Linked DNA regions of Homo sapiens: all the other regions are linked to region 1. The links are contacts of gene promoters, found by promoter capture Hi-C in blood cells and fetal thymus (Javierre and others, 2016). All regions are on one chromosome and are shown on one strand. The core of a region is centred on a gene start or on the middle of the fragment in contact, and the rest is flanking DNA. Distances in the headings are between cores, read along the strand shown. Region 1 holds the start of PIN4 (peptidylprolyl cis/trans isomerase, NIMA-interacting 4). Region 2 overlaps NHSL2 (NHS like 2). Region 3 overlaps NHSL2 (NHS like 2). Region 4 overlaps NHSL2 (NHS like 2). Region 5 overlaps NHSL2 (NHS like 2). Region 6 overlaps NHSL2 (NHS like 2).

Region 1 (2,829 bases), core at 113-2,612:
ATCCTCCCTCACCACCCCTCCCCAACCCAATAAATCACCAAGTCTTGACTATTTCACATCCTAATATTTACAGAATCTTTTCTCTTTTCTCAGTTCCCACAGCCACTCCCTTAGGTCAGTCCACCATCATCTCTCACCAAGACTACCACAACAATCTCCTTACAGGTCTTTCTGATCCTTAACTGTCCTTCTTAGCAGAATATATAGCACTCTCCATGATCTCGTCTTTGTTTCTGTTTTCATTCTCACCACTTGCCATTCTGCCTTGAGTTTTTGCTCCAGCAACACTACGCTGCACACATCATGCTGTTTCTCACCTCAGTGCTTTTGCTGCTGGACCCCAAGTAAGGAATGCTTTAACCTACCCTCAATGCACATCTTGACCTGCCTAATTCATCTCCAGGAAGTCTTCCGTTCCCTGTTCCCCAGCTAAATGAAGGACTTCCCTCAATTTCTATTATATCCCATACACATCCCTCAACACTACATTTAGTACAGTGCTTTATGATCACTAAGCCTTTATCTTCCTCACTACTTCGGGAGCTCCTTAAGGCCAAAATCTCTTTTTTTTTTTTGAGACAGAGGCTCGCTCTGTCGCCCAGGCTGGAGTGCAGTGGCGCGATCTCGGTTCATTGCAACCTCTGCCTCCCGAGTTCAAGCGATTCTCCTGCCTCAGCCTCCCGAGTAGCTGGGATTACGGGCGCGCACCACCACCACGCCTGGCGAATTTTTGTATTTTTAGTAGAGACGGGGTTTCGCCATGTTGGCCAAGCTGGTCTCGAACTCCTGACCTCGTGATCCATCCTCCCTCGGCCTCCCAAAGTGCTGGGATTATAGGCGTGAGCCACCGCGCCCAGCCTTCTGTCTTATTTGTGTATCCTCAGCGCTTAGCACTCTGCCTGACACATTTCTGTTCAATGGATGAATGATTCCTTCCCCGATGGTGGGCATGTCATTCTGTAAGCATTAAAGTGAACTTTAAGGACCATAACCAATGTGTACTTCCTATTGCTGGCTTTTGATAAGACCCAATTTTAGAGCTCTAATAACCCCTTGAAATAGCAGCCCTAAGTCATCGCCTCCGAGGAACTATCCCCATCAGATTCCATTACCCACTAGGACGGTCCCTGAACCGTAGCCCAATGTATTCCTACAGATGTAATCGATGGCAGCACTGTGGGGCCACTGGCTACCTGCTGCGTCCGTCCCGGACTCCGGAGATGGACTGTCTGTTCCCTCCCTTCGCTCCTCACCCGCCCCCATTCTCCTTGATCGCTCTGGCCGCTCTACCTTTCCCCGCTTTTCCAGAACCACTTTTTCCTTTGGGCGGCATCTTGGAAGCTTGTTGTTGAACGCTGAACCGCTCCAGTTGCCGTACAAGCCCCTTTAGAAGCCCCGCCATGGGCATGTCCTAAACAAATGCCTGAAAGCCGCATCTCAATTGACCGTTCTTATTGCGGCTCCGGAAGCAGGCACAGCTTGGGGCAGACCCCGTCCTTTGGCTCTTGGACCAATGGGGCTGAAGATGTCTGACCAATAAGACGCTTGGGCCGAAACAAAGGCAGAGGGGCGGAGACAAAGGCCGGATTAGGGCGGGAAGCCTGGCCTCTGCGCTTTTTGTGACTTCTTTCACGCACCCTAATTTGCACCAGATCCCCCACTCCCCACACTCTACGCCCGAAGCTCCCCCGTTCCCCTCAACCTGGCTTTTTTCACGCGTGCGCAGTAGGAGCCACGGGGGTGGGTGGCTCTGCAGTCCCTCGGCGCCAGCTCTGGCCAATCCCGCGGGGCCGCCAGACAAAGGGAAGCAGGAGTACTGTGGTGGCGGCCAACTTCCGCTGTCTCCTCCTACACACAGGGCTGCCCTCCCTGGCAGTTTTTCGTTTGTTAATTTTATTCTGCAGTTGTAGCTAATTAGGTTCAAAAGGTAGTTTTTAAAAAAGCCTGTCACCTTTTTGCGTCTTGCAGAGCTCAGTCATGGAGAAACATTGGAAGCAGTCTGAGTGCTCCTCAGTCGGGTACTGCTTAAATAATGTTTTAGCCACACAAGAAGATATTATACAACATTCAAAATAACGATTGTAAGGCTGTGTGTACAGATAGGGGAAATGTTTTTAAGACCAAGATAAAGAATATGATTCCTTGTAAAAGAAGTATATGTAATGTATTGTATGTTATATGAATATAAAGGAGAGGAAAGCTATAGAGCAAGATGTGGCCAGTGGTGCTAGTGCATACAGGTCATCGTGTTTGTTTCTGTGTATTTTCCAAAATTTCCATAATGGTGCAGCATAGTGTAGTAAAAGCATGGATTCTGGAGCCAGATTGCCCAGTTTCAAATCCCTGCTCCACATCTGTCTACTAGCTCCATGACCTTGAGGAAGTTACTTCACCTCTCTTTGGCTCAGTTTCATCATCTGTGAAATGGAGTTGATGATAATAGTACCTACTATTATCCTATCAGGTGTTAAGAGAATTAAACAAGTTCATATCTGTAAAGCACATAAAATGATGGCTTGCTCATATTAATAATGTTTGCCTAAGATAAATGATTTTTGAATTTGTGCCCACACACTTTTTCTCCCCTTACAATCCCTCCCACCATCAATAATTTGTATATGATATGTCAGGGCGTTTCCTCCAGTCCATGAGAGAGCTGTCCTAGCTTGCCACTACCAGCCAGAATATAGAGGTCTTCCAGCTCAGAGTTTAGTTTTTGGATGCAGCCTTGCTGGACCTGGAGATGCTTCATGCTCATACCAGGGAATCAGGTGTTTCTGAGACTGTGCTCATTCCCTACTCAAGACATAACATGGAGCCCTCTTATGT
Region 2 (2,700 bases), core at 116-2,615, 200 kb after region 1:
ATAAAGAGTTATAAGAGGTTTATGAAAATCATACCTTATGGTCAAACTAATTAAAACTGGATAAACTTATAAAATGTTATTTAAAACTAGCTTTGGCATGAAAAATGCACTAATGCAAATATGAAATTTGGTTTTCTGTTTCAAAAAAGATTTTTACATAATATGAAAAGATAATGAAAGGTTTTTGTCTATGACTTTGGATAAATGGCAGGGAAAAAGGGAGGGGAAAAAGAAAAGACAGATTCAAGATTCAATTGGCCTCATGCTGTCTTTATTGGGTCTTGTTTAGAAAGCTGATTCTCTCCTCTCTTAGTGAGTATGGGGTTTTGCCTTTTTAAAATATTTATCATTTTGGTTAAATGAGTGACTTACGGTGACCTGGGATTCTTTTTATAATATCAAGTGACTTAAGCCTTTAATATTTGATAAGCTTTCCAAAGTGAAATTATAAACTATGACTTTTTCTGACCTAATTAATCTTTTAGATATTAGGTTGCCTAAAGTCCAAAAGTGACATTTGGCTTATTTGGTATAAAAGTCATACAGGAAACATTCTCAAATATAAGATGGTGTTTGGCTTTTTTGGGCTGTATTTCTAGAAATATGTTATTGGTATGTGTTCAAAATTATGGGAAACTCTTATAATCCTAATATAACTTAGCATATATTATCAGTAATAATTATAATTATTACATAAAATCATTGTGTGCCGTAGAGGTAACCAAATTTCTTTGTCAATCATGTTTTTGGCTGTGGCTGCCCTAAGACATTTTGTCATCCACAGGCAATTGTTGTCTTGTTTTGATCCTCTTTAAAAGGTGGTTTATAATCAGCTACAGGACTCTAACAGGTGTTCTTGAATGCAGGTTTCTAATAACTTTGGAGATTATGACATTAGAATAGAGGAAAAACTTTCAAGACTCATGGAAAGCTGAAATGTTCATGAATATAAAGCAGAACAGGAGTTGACTGAATGGACTGACCTAATAGAAGACTGAAGCAATCTTTTTTAACTTAGCTTAAAGCATTGCGGATCCTTTTGTTTTGTTTTTCAGAGTCAAAGAAACTTTTCTTTTAAGCTATTTACAGCTTTTAACAATTGAGTAAAGTATATTCCTGGGAATAAAACTTGGAGCATATTTGTTTCTCTCTACCTGATTTCTCCAGAATTTGGAAACTAGTTGTGAGTGTTCTTAACTTATAGCAATAGTTATTTGCATAAGTGCAATAAGAATCTGTTTTCTTTTGCAACAGGACACAATTTGAGAAACTGGTTATTTTACCAAGGCTTTGAATGGAATGGTGTGCTTTCCTTTAAGGAATCAAACTTGACTTATAGAGCCAATAAAAGCCCCTTGGGAAACTGGCCTCATACCTTGTCTACACAGTTCCTGTACAAGGTTCCTGACCTGTGGTAAGTTTAAAGAATGTCACCTTCTGACAGGCCCAGGAGCCCCAAGTTATCTTGGGACCTCAAGGGGAGAGGGATTTACTCAACTTATGGGTATTTGAGGGCACAAATCCATGGCTGGGCTCGGCTTTAAAAAGATCTGAGATTCCATCTATGAAACAGAGCTCCATCAGCCGGGCACGGTGGCTCATGCCTGTAATCCCAGCACTTTGGGAGGCCAAGGTGGGCGGACCACGAGGTCAGGAGATCGACACCATCCTGGCTAACACAGTGAAACCCCATCTCTACTAAAAATACAAAAACTTAGCCGGGCATGGTGGCAGGTGCCTGTAGTCCCAGCTACTCAGGAGGCTGAGGCAGGAGGATGGCATGAACCCGGGAGGCAGAGCTTGCAGTGAGCCGAGATCGTGCCACTGCACTCCAGCCTGGGCGACAGAGCAAGACTCCATCTCAAAAAAAAAAAAAAAGGAAAGAAATAGAGCTCCATTAAAGCCAATTTAAAAAGGGCTTATGTGAAAAATAATTATTCTTGCTGCACTTTATACAAACAGTCCAACCAGGTATAATAAAGCAAATCAGTCTTACCATGATTTACCTTTAGTAAAAATGGGAGACTGGAGAGAGAAAAAATTATGTTTCAAGAATTGTGGTATACCTGTTATTAGCTTTTAGTCTCATTAGTTGTTTTTAAGTATTTTTCTGCAATTTATACTGACTCTGCTTATTCCTGTGAATCATCCAGTGATCTCTGACTGCTTCTCAGAAGAAACAAGAGGGATGGGTAATGTAAAAATCTGGATCAGTATTCCAATTCTGGGCACATATTGAAATTGGCTAGCAACCCCATATTAGCTTGGTTCCAACAAATGCCTAGTTCATGGAAAGCTTTCTAATTTAGTTTACTAGGGACAATTTTACTTATTTTGCTTTACTATTGTGGAATATATTGCTGTTGTACTCTTTGTGTAGGAATGCAGGATAAGCTTACCGAATGTTTTCTTACATTGAATACTTATTAATCTTCAAGATATCACCTTTTGTCAGAACTCAGAATTGTGAATGGCCCATGACATACCAATGCTTTCTGACTGAGCTCCTCTCTACCCTGATTGCAAGAGATCTAATAGTTAGACAGGAATATCATCACCGCTATTCATTAGAAGATGGATCTTTGTCCCTCTGCAACCCTTAGGATTAAGGGTTCTCTTATAAAAGTGAGGGGGGAAATGTCAGAGGTGTTTGAACCACAGCAACTCCATCTTGAATAGGGGCTGGGTAAAATAAGGATG
Region 3 (2,838 bases), core at 206-2,705, 150 kb after region 1:
CCCTTCCTCTGTATGCATTAGGTCCTTGTGTGAGCTGCCAGTTATGACTCCAGTCCTGAACCCCAACCCTACTTGGACAGGGTTAGACTCTGCCTTGCTTTTGCCGGGCCTTTTCTCCTGGGGGATACTTCCTATATCATACACACATACATGCTTGTCTATGCCATGCCTAAGCTTTCCACACCCAAAGGACCACCCAAGAGCCAGTATTCCCAACCCTATCCCTTCCCCAACAGCCAGGTGGCTGAGATCCCAGCATGCCTCCTGCCCAAGTTATGACAACTTACTTAAATCACAAAGACCAAAGTCCTTAGATGTTCTTGGCAAATCCAAACAACGCTTGGTCCACATATGATGCTGAGGACCCAACCAGGGGCCCAGCTCTACCGACAATGTCCAAAGAAGGCCTGGGCCACCCCTTCTGTCAGGGAGGGGTTAGGCTGAACTTGTGGATCCCTGTTGTTTCCTGACCTTCAAAATCCTTCCCAGTGGCTGAGGTAATGTTTGGGACCCAGGCCCAAATCTCTTTCAAGAGAGAGTGTTGTCAAATGAGATGTACCCACTCTAGTGCCAACAATGTCAGCACCTATCATGACCTTATCATGTCACCTCAGTACACTAGAAGCTAGTGCCCCTTCCTCTCTCAAATCAGCTGAGGGGTGAGGGAAAGGGAGGAGTAGAGATCTGGGGAAGGAGGCCAGGCGGAAGGACCTGCTGCCATATTGGATTGCTGGTTCCCTGACACCAGTGACGGGCACCAATAGGCATTTAACTGATGCTTGCTGATTAAATACACAAATAAATGAATGAATTATTCCTAAAATAATAGGGGAAAACATCCTTGAGCTCACAGAAATCTCGAGCTCTCCTTGAATCTCTATCACAAACCCAGTTTGCCTTCTCTACCTCTTCCTTTGTGCTTCCCCCTTTCAGCTGAGTAGCATTAAGTCATTTTCCCTGAAGTGTAAACTGAAGTCCTTAAAAGCTAAAAGCCTTGCTTGTAGTCATCCAACAAAGTTGAAAAAAGTAAGCCCAAGAAGACCTTGAGTGGCTCCTGGCCCACTGCACATGCAGCTGGAGCAGACTGAATCCCATTCACCTTAGCTGAGTGGTTCCATGCCACCAGAGTCACAGATGGCTGGGGCTGGACATGTTGCCATCTGCTTTTCTCATAGGGTTCCTAGCACCCTCTGGCCTCCATTCCTCTAGCAGCAGCAGTGGCAGCAGCAGCAGCAGCGGCAGCAGCAGCAGCAGCAAACTCAACACCTCACACTCCTAAACTCCCACCCATCATGGGTTTGGTAGGCAACTCACGAGGGTGGAGGTAGGCCAGGCTGCATGGACCAAGCCTCCTTCTGACCCTTAATACAAAACCCCTAGTGGAGTCACCAAAGCCCACCCATCTCCTTCCTGCCTCGGTTACCAAGGTTCTCGGAGGTCTTGAGAGTTCCCTTCCGCCTCCCACAGGGTCTGTGTTGGACACTCCCCAGACTTCCCTGACAGGGTGAAGGTTAAAATGTCCAGACCACGTACCTACTCATTCCAGCCACTTGTCCAGCTGTCCTCCAAACTGTGTGCTCAGGAGCTGAAGGAGGGACCAGGTGAGAGGACGAGGCTGCTGGGGAAAGCCCTGGGCTCTGGAACCTCCTGGCCAAGTTCACCAAATTTCCAGACGAAGGACGGAGGAGAGACGAGCAAATGAGAGAAAGGAAAGGAGGCAGGACCAAAGCTAACCCCTTCTTTTTTCTTCCTAAACTCAATCCAGATTCGCCTTCTGAGGGCTGCTTGAAACTGATCCCCGCGGCTCTGACTCGTCCTTTCTTAAAGACATAGTCTCCGCTTTGGAGGTGGGGAGTGAGGAAAACCCCACCTAGCCAAAAGATGTCCAGGAGCAAAAGATGGGGGGAAGGCAACATAAGCACGAAACTCAAAATGCCCCATGCCCCAACTCCTGATCCAGACTCCAAGCTGGAGCCTTACTGGAAGTTCCTTCAGAGCAGCTGACTCAAGATCTCTGCTGGATATCATGAGAGACCCTGTCAGAGCCACAGGGCTGTAGTGGGAAGTGGGCCAGTTTCCTGGCACTGGCAGATTAGGGACCAAAGCTGAAGTCTCAGGGTGTGTAGGGAAGGGAGCACTGGACAGGGAATCCTGTCTCTTCTGCTACTCCCTGTGGCACCATAGGCCAACCACTTTCCTCTTCTCCTCTCAAACACAGTTTCCCTTCTTCACACATTGAAAAGATCATCACTGCAGCCCTGCCCAGCTCCCAAGTTGCTGAAGTCTCCTCTTATAACAAAAGGTAGCACACTTGGGGAACTGGTGTCTGACCCTGGCATGCTGTACTGCTCTGGCTGGCAGATATTTACAGAGACCAGAGGTGGGACTTTCTGCTGGGTTGGGTGATGGTGGAATCCGGATGTGATCTTATGAGTGGGTAGATGGGGAGTCATTTTGTATGTGTGCCAGGGGAGGAGGTGGAACAGACTGTCTCTCGTGTTTCTTACAAGGTGTTAACAACTTATCAGGATCTGCCATTTGAGGGTGCAGAAAGAGGCTGTGAGTACATCCTTACAACCTTATCTCGCCCTCACCTCCATATTTCCCATTTCCTTCTGCAGGAAAACCACCTAGGCCATTGGCCTGGCAGGGCCTGGGACAGCCTCTGGCTGTGGTGCCTTCCCCATAGCTCTTTCTTGCTGCAGGCTCCAGCTCCCACTGTTTCCTAAAGCTTAAAGCTGCCCACCTCCTCCCCATGCCTGGGCTTCTGTTCTTTTTCATCCTGTCTGCAGAGCAGGGCATGATCTCTGAGTTTCTTCTTCCTTCCTTGTTGTCCCC
Region 4 (2,807 bases), core at 10-2,509, 210 kb after region 1:
AAACAGAAAGCTTTTCCCTAAGACAAGGGTGTTTGTTCTCACTACCTCTGTTCAGCATTGTAATGGAGGTTCTAGCTAGAGCAATTAGTTTAAAAAGAAAAAGAAACAAAAGGCATACAGATTAAAAAGGAAGAAGTAAAACTATCTCTATTTGTAGATAATATGACCTTGTATATAGAAAATCCTAAGGAAACCACTAAAAATCTATGAGAATTAATAAACAAATTCAACAAGTTTGCTAAATGAAATTAAGAAAACCATTTGGCCGGACGTGATGGCTCACGCCTGTAATCCCAGCACTTTGAGAGGCTGAAGCGAGTGGATCACCTGAGGTCAGGAGTTCGAAACCAGCCTGGCCAACATGGGGAAACCCCGTCTCTACTAAAAATACAAAAATTAGCCATGCGCAGTGGTGGGTGCCTGTAATCCCAGCTACTGGGGAGGCTGAAGCAGGAGAATCGCTTGAACCCAGGCGGTGGAGGTTGCAGTGAACCAAGATTGCGCCATTGCACTCCAGCCTGGGCAACAGAGCGAGACTGTCTCAAAAAAAAAAAAAGAAAAAAAAAAAAGAAAAAAAGAAAACCGTTCAACTTACAAAAGCATAAAAAAAAAGGAGGGATAAATTTAACAAAAGAAGTAAAAATTTCTTACTTCGAAAACTAGAAAACATGGTTGAAAAAATCTTAAAAGATATAAATAAATGGGAAAACATCTCATGTTCATATATCAGAAAATTTAATATTGTTAAGATAGCTACATGGCCCAAATTTATCTACAGATTCAACACAATCCCTGTGAAAATCCCAGCTATCTTTTTTGGCAGAAGTTGACAAGCTGATCCTACAATCCATATGGAAATGAAAGGGGCTCAGAATAGCCAAAATGTTCTTGAAAAAGAACAGCAAACTTGGGGGATTTATACTTTCCAATATCAAAACTTACCACAAAGCTACAATAATCAAGACTGCATGGTGCTAGCACAAGACTAGATATTTAGATCAACTGAATAAGCAAGAGATGATAAAGAAACCCTAAAATTATGGTCAACTGATTTTTGACAAAGATATCAAGATAATTAAATGGGGAAAGAAAAGTCTTTTTAACAAATAATTCTGAACAACTGGATAGCCACATGCAAAGGAATAAAGTAGGACCTCTATCTGAGATTATACACAAAAATTAAAGAAGATTATAGACTAAATGTAAAAGCTAAAACTATAAAACTCTTAGAATAAAACATGGAAGAAAATCTGCATGATATTGGGTTAGGCAATGATTTCCTACATATGACACCAAAAACACAAGCAAAAAAAAAGATTGACAAGTTAAACTTAATCAAGGTGAAAAATTTTTGTGCATCAAAGGATGCCATACAAAAAAGGGCAGAAAGAGCTCACATTACATAAATATTTATTGCAGCATTATTCATAATATCCAAAAAGTAGAAACAGCACAAATGTGTATCAACTAGTAAATGGATAAATAAAATGTGGTATAGCTATAAGATGGAATGGAATATTATTCAGCAGTATGAAATGAAGTGGCAGGTTCCACTTCAAGCATGACAGTGTGAAGAGCAGTGGCTCATGCCACTGCTCTTTGTCATCCCAGCACTTTGGGAGGCCAAGGTAGGAGGACTGCTTGAGGCCAGGAGTTCCAGACCAGCCTGTGCAACATAGTAAGACCCCCATCTCTACAAAAAATTAAATAAATTAGCCAGGCATGGTGGTGTGTGCCTGTGGTCCCAGATACTAGGGAGGCTGAGGCAGGAACATTGCTTGAGCCCAAGAATATGAGGTTACAATGAGCTATGATTGTACCACTGCACTCCAGCCTGGACAATGGGGCAGAGACCCTGTCTCTTAAAAAAAAAAAAAAAGATTGACTTCCGGTTAACATGCACGCAGCTTAGAAGTCGCTCCCCATCCTAACAAGTAAAAAGCTGAACACACTGAAAAATCAATACCTCTTCTTAGATTAATCAGAGAAATGAGGTCACAGGGCAAACCTCTGCCCTCAAAATTAGAGACAGACAGATGAACACAGAGAATCACAACTCATGGGAAGAGAAACTCATGAACAGAAATCAGTACTGGAGTAGGAAAACCTGAATTGTAATTGATGAATTGTTGGATGCTCAGTGAGGATAAATCTGACAACAGTTAATACTTTTTTATGGGCCATAAAACACACTTTTACAAGTTTAAAGGAATAGCAATCATATAATGTCTGCTCTCAGACTACAATGGAATTGAAATAGAAATCAATAACAGAAAGACGTCTAGAAAATCCTGAAATACTTGGAGATTAAACAATATATTTCTAAATAAAACATGGATCAAAGAAAAAATCTCAAGAGAAATACAAAATATATTGAACTAAATGAAAATGAAAATATATCAAAATTTGAGGGATGCAGCAAAAGCAGTGCTTAGAAGGAAATTTATAGCATGTACATATTAGAAATGAAGAATGTATATATTAGAAAAGAAGAAAAACCTAAGCTTCCACCTTTGGAAAATAGAAGAAAAAGCGAACTAAACCCAAAGTAAGCAGAAGAAAAGAAATAAAAATTAGGGCAGAAATCAATGAAACCAAAAGCAGAAAATCATTGGAGAAAAAATCAACAAAACCAAAAGCTGCTTCTTTTAAAAGATCAATAAAATCAATAAGCCTCTAGCTAGGCTAAGAAAAAAAGAGAACACAAATGACTAATATTACAAATGAAAGAGGGGGGAACATCAGTACAAATTCCATGGACACCAAAAGAATAATAAAAGAATACAAAGAACAACTCTATGCCCACA
Region 5 (2,824 bases), core at 73-2,572, 140 kb after region 1:
TGTGCTCATCACAGTGCATTTTGAGTTAAACAAACCTAAGTTTTAATTCCGGCTCTGCCACTTATTAGCTTTGTGACTTTGGAGATGTCACTTAACCTCTCTGAATCTCAGTCTTTCCATCTGCACAACTCTGTTGTTACTAATAACAATACCAAATTAATAATGTTGTTTGGGGGCTTAAATGAAAAAAGACTTACAAGAGAAACCAGCCCAGTGCAGCACAGCGGCAACTCATTTATCTGCTCCATCTGAATCTTGCTCTGGGCCAGCAAAAGGTGCTTTGCCAGCAATGTAAAGACACCGAGAACCAGAAACACATGGCAAAGGTGATCCCTGAAACCTTTCTCTGCAGTGTCCGTCCTTGAAATGTCCCCAGGGAAGAGAGCATAATCCTCAGTCTAGGACTTGGGAGCCAGAATCCAGATGGCATGGCCCATTTATCAGCACCACCAGACTCTCAACTTTAATAAGCCTTCTGCATTAGTAACCACAGGAAGAGGAGGAAATGGGCTAGATTCCTTAGCGATAATGAGCACTGCCGGCTCACTTTTATATTGGCAAAGTGCATCGTGATCACTCTGATTAGTTAGTTTGCTCTCATATCAGCCCTCAGGAGGTACAAGGAGTATTTTTCTCTTTGTTTTAAAGATGCAGGAACTGGGAAGCACAAGCTGTCTGCCACTTGCAGCCCTTGGCCTGGTCAATGCCTCTACTCAGTATATGGAGCTGCCTTATGGCTCTTAGAATTTTAGGGATGAATTTTAGAGTCTAGTGCCATTTAGTACTTTTCTGGGAAGACAGGTTGCCTGGTGTTGTCTAAGAGATTCTGTCCTTTACCTATCAGACGAGGTTGTGGGCCGGCCTAGGAGCAAAGAAACTCCAAACCTTAAAAGGTTAGAAATGCAGGACCTAGGGAATTCGGGGAAACAGACCAATGAAAGTGCTTAGCAACATCCCAGGACCAATGCGGGTGAGCCCCTCTGTTTCCATGAGACAGTCTTGATTTTCATTGGCCATGAACATGATACTGTCTCCCTGAATGAGGGTGAGGGAGTGGGGGTTGTCTGCAGCTCTGTTTAGGTGTTTATACCTGTCTATGAAGGGAGCTTAAGAAAACTGGGGGAGTTCCCATTTGGGCCCTTGGCACTGGGAAGTTCTCAGTCATATCAGAAAAATGAAAGCAGTTTGGCAGACTTTTACTGTTGCCATATCCCTGCACAAATGCAAATTGTGCGGGCCATAGGTATGCGGTCTGTACACAATACGAAAAGGCACACATGGTCATCTTAAAGCTCTGAGTGAATAAAAAGCTATTTATATGTCAGTCTCTGCCTGGCCAAGGCCTGTCTCCGTAAGCAGGGAAGGTCAAAGCCCTTCTTCCTGCTCAACTGGCCCTGCTCTGGAATCAGAGTGAATCCAGTCTGACCGGGGACTGGGGGGTTCCCTCCTCAGAAAGTGGTATAAGAGGGGGACTGCAAATAGTGTATGCTGCCCTGGGTGATGCCTCTGAGCCTGGAAGCAAGCTGAGCCCCAGAGGCCACGGGGGCCTCCCACCTCCCACCACCCCTCCACCCCTGCCACGAGGGGCTGGTTTTCCTGACTGGCCACTGTGTGTCGGGCCAACATCCTTGGTCTCTCCAGCAACCCCACCACAAGGGACCTGGCACCTAGTCCTGAGCCTCAGCTGGCAGCTGGGGAGCCACGCTGGTCTGTCTGGCTCCTGCCAGCCCCTCCTTCCCTCATTGCTGGGACTCTGCTAATCCCTCCCATTGTATGCCCAGGACTGCTATTTCACCCTGCTCCCCTGCACTCCCCAAGTACAGTCATCTGTAGCAGACCTGCCTTGAGTGTTTCCCACACCCCTGTGACTCTTGACATTGTATTCAGACTGCTTCTCATGCCCTGACTTGGGCTGTTATGTGTGCTAGATGCTGGGAAGGCTGCTGGGTCTTAGTTGTCTCCAGCTCCTCTTCCCAGTGTCAGCTTGGACCCTGATGGCCAGATAGCTCCACGTGGGGGCTTCTAGCATGCTATGCAGCCAGTGCCACATCAGTTAGAAAATTACCTTGGGCCACTCTTCTTTTTTTTTTTTTTTAAGTACAATTTCCATTTTATTTTTCTCCAGAGAATAGCCTGTCTTCAGTCTTTAAGAACTCAGCTCCTTACATGGGCTTTGGTGGGGGACGTGGGGCAGCACCCGCAGGTCTAAATCGGGGTGGGGGTGTTCGGTCCTTGCAGGCTTCACGAGATCGATTCCTGACTACTTTGCTGTGAATTGCACAACTCACACAGTAATGTAGCTTCACATACAGCTTGGGAAGCACATAGGCATCGAAGACGCTCACTTCAGAAATGTCCCTGACTGCTGCGGCCTCCACTATGTTTCGAATGACGAATTTCTTAATGGCCTTGTCTGTGGGCACGCATCGGACACAGTTAGTGCAGCGAATAGGCTGCACGTGGCCGCGGCCCTTTTTGGCATGACTGTTGTTCCTTCTTTTCTTTGTCATCTTGGAGGCATGGACCGGAGAGAGCGGGCCACTCTTCTTATGTAATCATTAGAGTTCTGTGGGATCCCAAACCATCCAGGAATGTAGAGGAATGGGGGCCACCTGACAAGGATACTGGTTGATGCTCATGCTGAAGTGGTTGTAAGTTCTTGTTTAGGAGCAGGACCTTCCCTGCCACTTGATTAGGGGGAAGAATTCCAAAAATTGGGTGGAATCTGGATTCAGTCAGCTGCCCTAAATCTGGTTGTCTCAAGTGAGCCCCAAGCAAGCAAGAATCCAAAAAGCCACAATGTCCTCCACTGTAGCCATATTGG
Region 6 (2,700 bases), core at 134-2,633, 170 kb after region 1:
CAGCAAGATTTCAGAAGGTCTTGCATGCAGCATGATAATCCTAATACCCTATCACATGTGTGGGACATACAACTCTGTGCCAAGGTTCAATTCAAAGGGTTTCTAGACTGTTCCTGACTCCAGAACAACTCCAGAAAACGATCATCATCGGTTTTCTAGCCAACTTACCCCACCCCAAAGCCGCATCTCCATGGGGTGGTGCTGGGTGCCATTTTGTCCCCTGCTCTAAACCCCTTATTGGCTCCAGCCACTCTACCTCCATTGGCTCCTCCACGAATTGGCTTAAACATGTCACATCAGAATTTTGGAAAACACTGTCCGCAGCCTGTCCTGTCCATACCTCCTGTCCTCTACTCACCGACTCACAGGTTGACAGCAGACAGAACACGTCCAACCACTGAGCAGATAGGGACGTGGGTCACACAGTCAGTCAGAACAGAGTGTGGGCAACAACTCAAAGGTGCCAATATTTTGATAAAGATTTTATAATTTTCCTGGGAAAACAGGCAACTGTCAATCATATGCAGGTCATTGAAAGGGAAGAAAAAATGGAAAACTTGGCCCCATAGGCTGAAAGCCTCCAGCTTGAAATACCTCCTGGGAGCAAAAGTACCCTGGTATTTTTTGGTGCACAGTGTTGATTCTCAGAATGAGACCTGTTGCTTCATATTCACGAACTCCCCCAGCAAAGGCACCCAGCTGGAAACTGGAGAAAAGCACATGATTCTGAGGGCTCATTCCAAAGCCAGGAAAAACTGATGGTATTTTGTTTATGTTCAAAGAAATCAATCCAAAGAGATCAGCCCCACAGCCAAAGTCAGCCAGAATGGAGAGCAAACTGCTGCCAACCTCTGGGTCCTGGCCCGCTCATCAAGGGGAGAGGATGACCTTCATTGGAATCTGGGATCCAAGACTTTCAAGCGGTGTGCCCTTGGGCAAGATTCTTAACCCTCCTTAGGACCTTGATTTTCTAATCTGTAAAACAGGGCTAATTGCTACCTCACAGAGTTGCAGTAAAGATCAAATGAGCTTTTGTGTGTCTGGCATAGCCCCTGGGATACTAGCTGCTCAGTATGTGTTAGTTCTCTTCTCATGCCCACCTTTCTTTGGCAAGAGCCAGGCCAGTGATGTGGGGCAACTCTGGGGTTCCAGTGGTCCCTGGTGCCCTTAAGAAGAACTCTCTGAGGGATTCTGCAGCTCTTACATGGCAGTGCTGCTTTCTGCTCTTTATTAAAAGGGCATCCCCGGGTAGCTGCCATTTGATCCCAGCAGGACATGGTTCCATGCACAGCTTAGCACCAAAGGGCACTAATGCCTATTAATTAACTGTACATTCAGCTGACCTGCCAAAGCAGCTGATTTTATTTTCAGAATCCCAAATGTTTTCTTATTCCACTCTACCATACCTGAATCCTTTATGTATGTGAACCACCAATGCAGACGTTTGCTCTCCCCCACTTTCTTTCTCTTTCATCCTCTCAGCATCTCCTCTCTTCTCCACGCTGCTCCCTCTGCCTGTCCCTTGCCTTGGCTCCTTCTCTTTCCTAGCTCTTCCACAAACCCTCATCCAAAGACAGTACTTGTAGGGAGAGAGCAGGTAAAAGTGGCTCAAGTAGATCCATGGTGAGGTTTGAAAGAGACCATTCCACTTCCTCTTTGCCCTGCCATACCAGCCCATCCTCAGCCCCACTTTCTTGTCCATTCACACTGGGCTGGGCAATGGAATTGCAGAGCAAAACGAGTCATGGTCACTGCCCTCAGAGTCTTGTGGGAGAGACTTGCAGTCCCATGGTGTATACGAAAAACTGGATGGCTAGGAGCAGTGGCTCATACCTGTAATCCCAGCACTTTGAGAGGCCAAGGTGAGAAGATCTCTTGAGGTCAGGAGTTCAAGACCAGCCTGGGCAACAGAGCAAGAACCTTTCTCTACAAAATTAATTAGCCAGGCATGGTGGCACATCTGTGGTCCCAGCTCCTCGGGAGGCTGAGGCAGGAGGCTCATTTGAGCCCAGCAGGTTAAGGCTGCAGTAAGCCGTGATGGCACCACTGCACTCCAGCCTGGGCAACAGAGCGAGAGCTGGAGAGGAGGGTGCACAGAGGTGGGAAGGCATCTGCCTGCCTCTGAGGGGTTGGGGAAATGCAGGAGACTTGCACTGGGCCTTGATGCCTGAGTGAGATTTTTCCAAATGGAAAGAGGGTCAAAGAGCATCCCAGGGGTGGAGATAGCATGGAGGAGAGGAAGGCAGTGTGTATTTGGGGTTCTGTGTAGCCACACAGTAAGGTCTGAGAGACGGATAAACCATGAACCTGGAAAGGGGAACGCGGAGCCAACTCACCAAAGATGTGTCAGGTTGGTGGGAAGCTGGATCGCAGTGGGTGAGAATGCAAGGCTAAGCAGTTTGGACTTGTTGAATGTTGGGAAGGGACATGATGAAAGCCATGTTTTAAAAAGAAAATTCGGACAGGCAGAGAGACCAAAAGCAGAAAGGAGGCCAGTAAGGAGATTGCTGCAGTGGTCCTGTCACAAATTGAAGTCCTGAAACAGGGTGCTAACCATGGGAACAGAAATGAGGAGGCAGAGAAGAGATACCACTGGGGCCTACTTTCTCTACCTCTGGACTTATCCTGGAGTCATTCTGCAACTTTCCCAACACCTTCTCCCTGGATAACCTTAATGGAACCTGGGCCTCAGGTCTAACT

What was found. Contacts are between HindIII fragments. The CHiCAGO score rates a contact against its expected background, and 5 or more counts as called.
Region 2: a contact is called between a fragment that was not itself captured here and the fragment with the promoter of PIN4 in region 1, in 2 of 17 cell types (neutrophils and M1 macrophages). The highest score is 6.0, in neutrophils.
Region 3: a contact is called between a fragment that was not itself captured here and the fragment with the promoter of PIN4 in region 1, in 3 of 17 cell types (neutrophils, naive B cells and total B cells). The highest score is 8.4, in neutrophils.
Region 4: a fragment that was not itself captured here is called in contact with the fragment with the promoter of PIN4 in region 1 in 1 of 17 cell types (neutrophils); the score reaches 5.6 in neutrophils.
Region 5: a fragment that was not itself captured here is called in contact with the fragment with the promoter of PIN4 in region 1 in 1 of 17 cell types (neutrophils); the score reaches 9.0 in neutrophils.
Region 6: a fragment that was not itself captured here is called in contact with the fragment with the promoter of PIN4 in region 1 in 10 of 17 cell types (neutrophils, monocytes, M0 macrophages and 7 more); the score reaches 18.2 in neutrophils.

What each region holds. Positions count from the first base shown.
Region 1 is chrX:72,180,290-72,183,118 of GRCh38, reverse strand. It overlaps PIN4 (peptidylprolyl cis/trans isomerase, NIMA-interacting 4), which reads right to left and starts at 1,362. Exons shown (of 4, transcript NM_006223.4): 1 at 1,291-1,362. The coding sequence starts at 1,333. RefSeq lists an enhancer at 1,103-1,322. The HindIII fragment of the contact is 4,711 bases long and covers 1,344-2,829 here.
Region 2 is chrX:71,984,005-71,986,704 of GRCh38, reverse strand. All of the region lies in intron 1 of NHSL2 (NHS like 2), which reads right to left. Among named protein-coding and RNA genes, the nearest start is that of NHSL2, 75 kb to the right of the region's middle. The HindIII fragment of the contact is 1,866 bases long and covers 433-2,298 here.
Region 3 is chrX:72,026,395-72,029,232 of GRCh38, reverse strand. The region is part of intron 1 of NHSL2 (NHS like 2); the gene reads right to left. Among named protein-coding and RNA genes, the nearest start is that of RTL5, 100 kb to the left of the region's middle. The HindIII fragment of the contact is 2,557 bases long and covers 177-2,733 here.
Region 4 is chrX:71,967,069-71,969,875 of GRCh38, reverse strand. All of the region lies in intron 1 of NHSL2 (NHS like 2), which reads right to left. Among named protein-coding and RNA genes, the nearest start is that of NHSL2, 58 kb to the right of the region's middle. The HindIII fragment of the contact is 2,494 bases long and covers 13-2,506 here.
Region 5 is chrX:72,044,231-72,047,054 of GRCh38, reverse strand. The region is part of intron 1 of NHSL2 (NHS like 2); the gene reads right to left. It also overlaps the pseudogene RPS26P11. Among named protein-coding and RNA genes, the nearest start is that of RTL5, 86 kb to the left of the region's middle. The HindIII fragment of the contact is 3,461 bases long and covers 1-2,824 here.
Region 6 is chrX:72,005,956-72,008,655 of GRCh38, reverse strand. The region is part of intron 1 of NHSL2 (NHS like 2); the gene reads right to left. Among named protein-coding and RNA genes, the nearest start is that of NHSL2, 96 kb to the right of the region's middle. The HindIII fragment of the contact is 9,584 bases long and covers 1-2,700 here.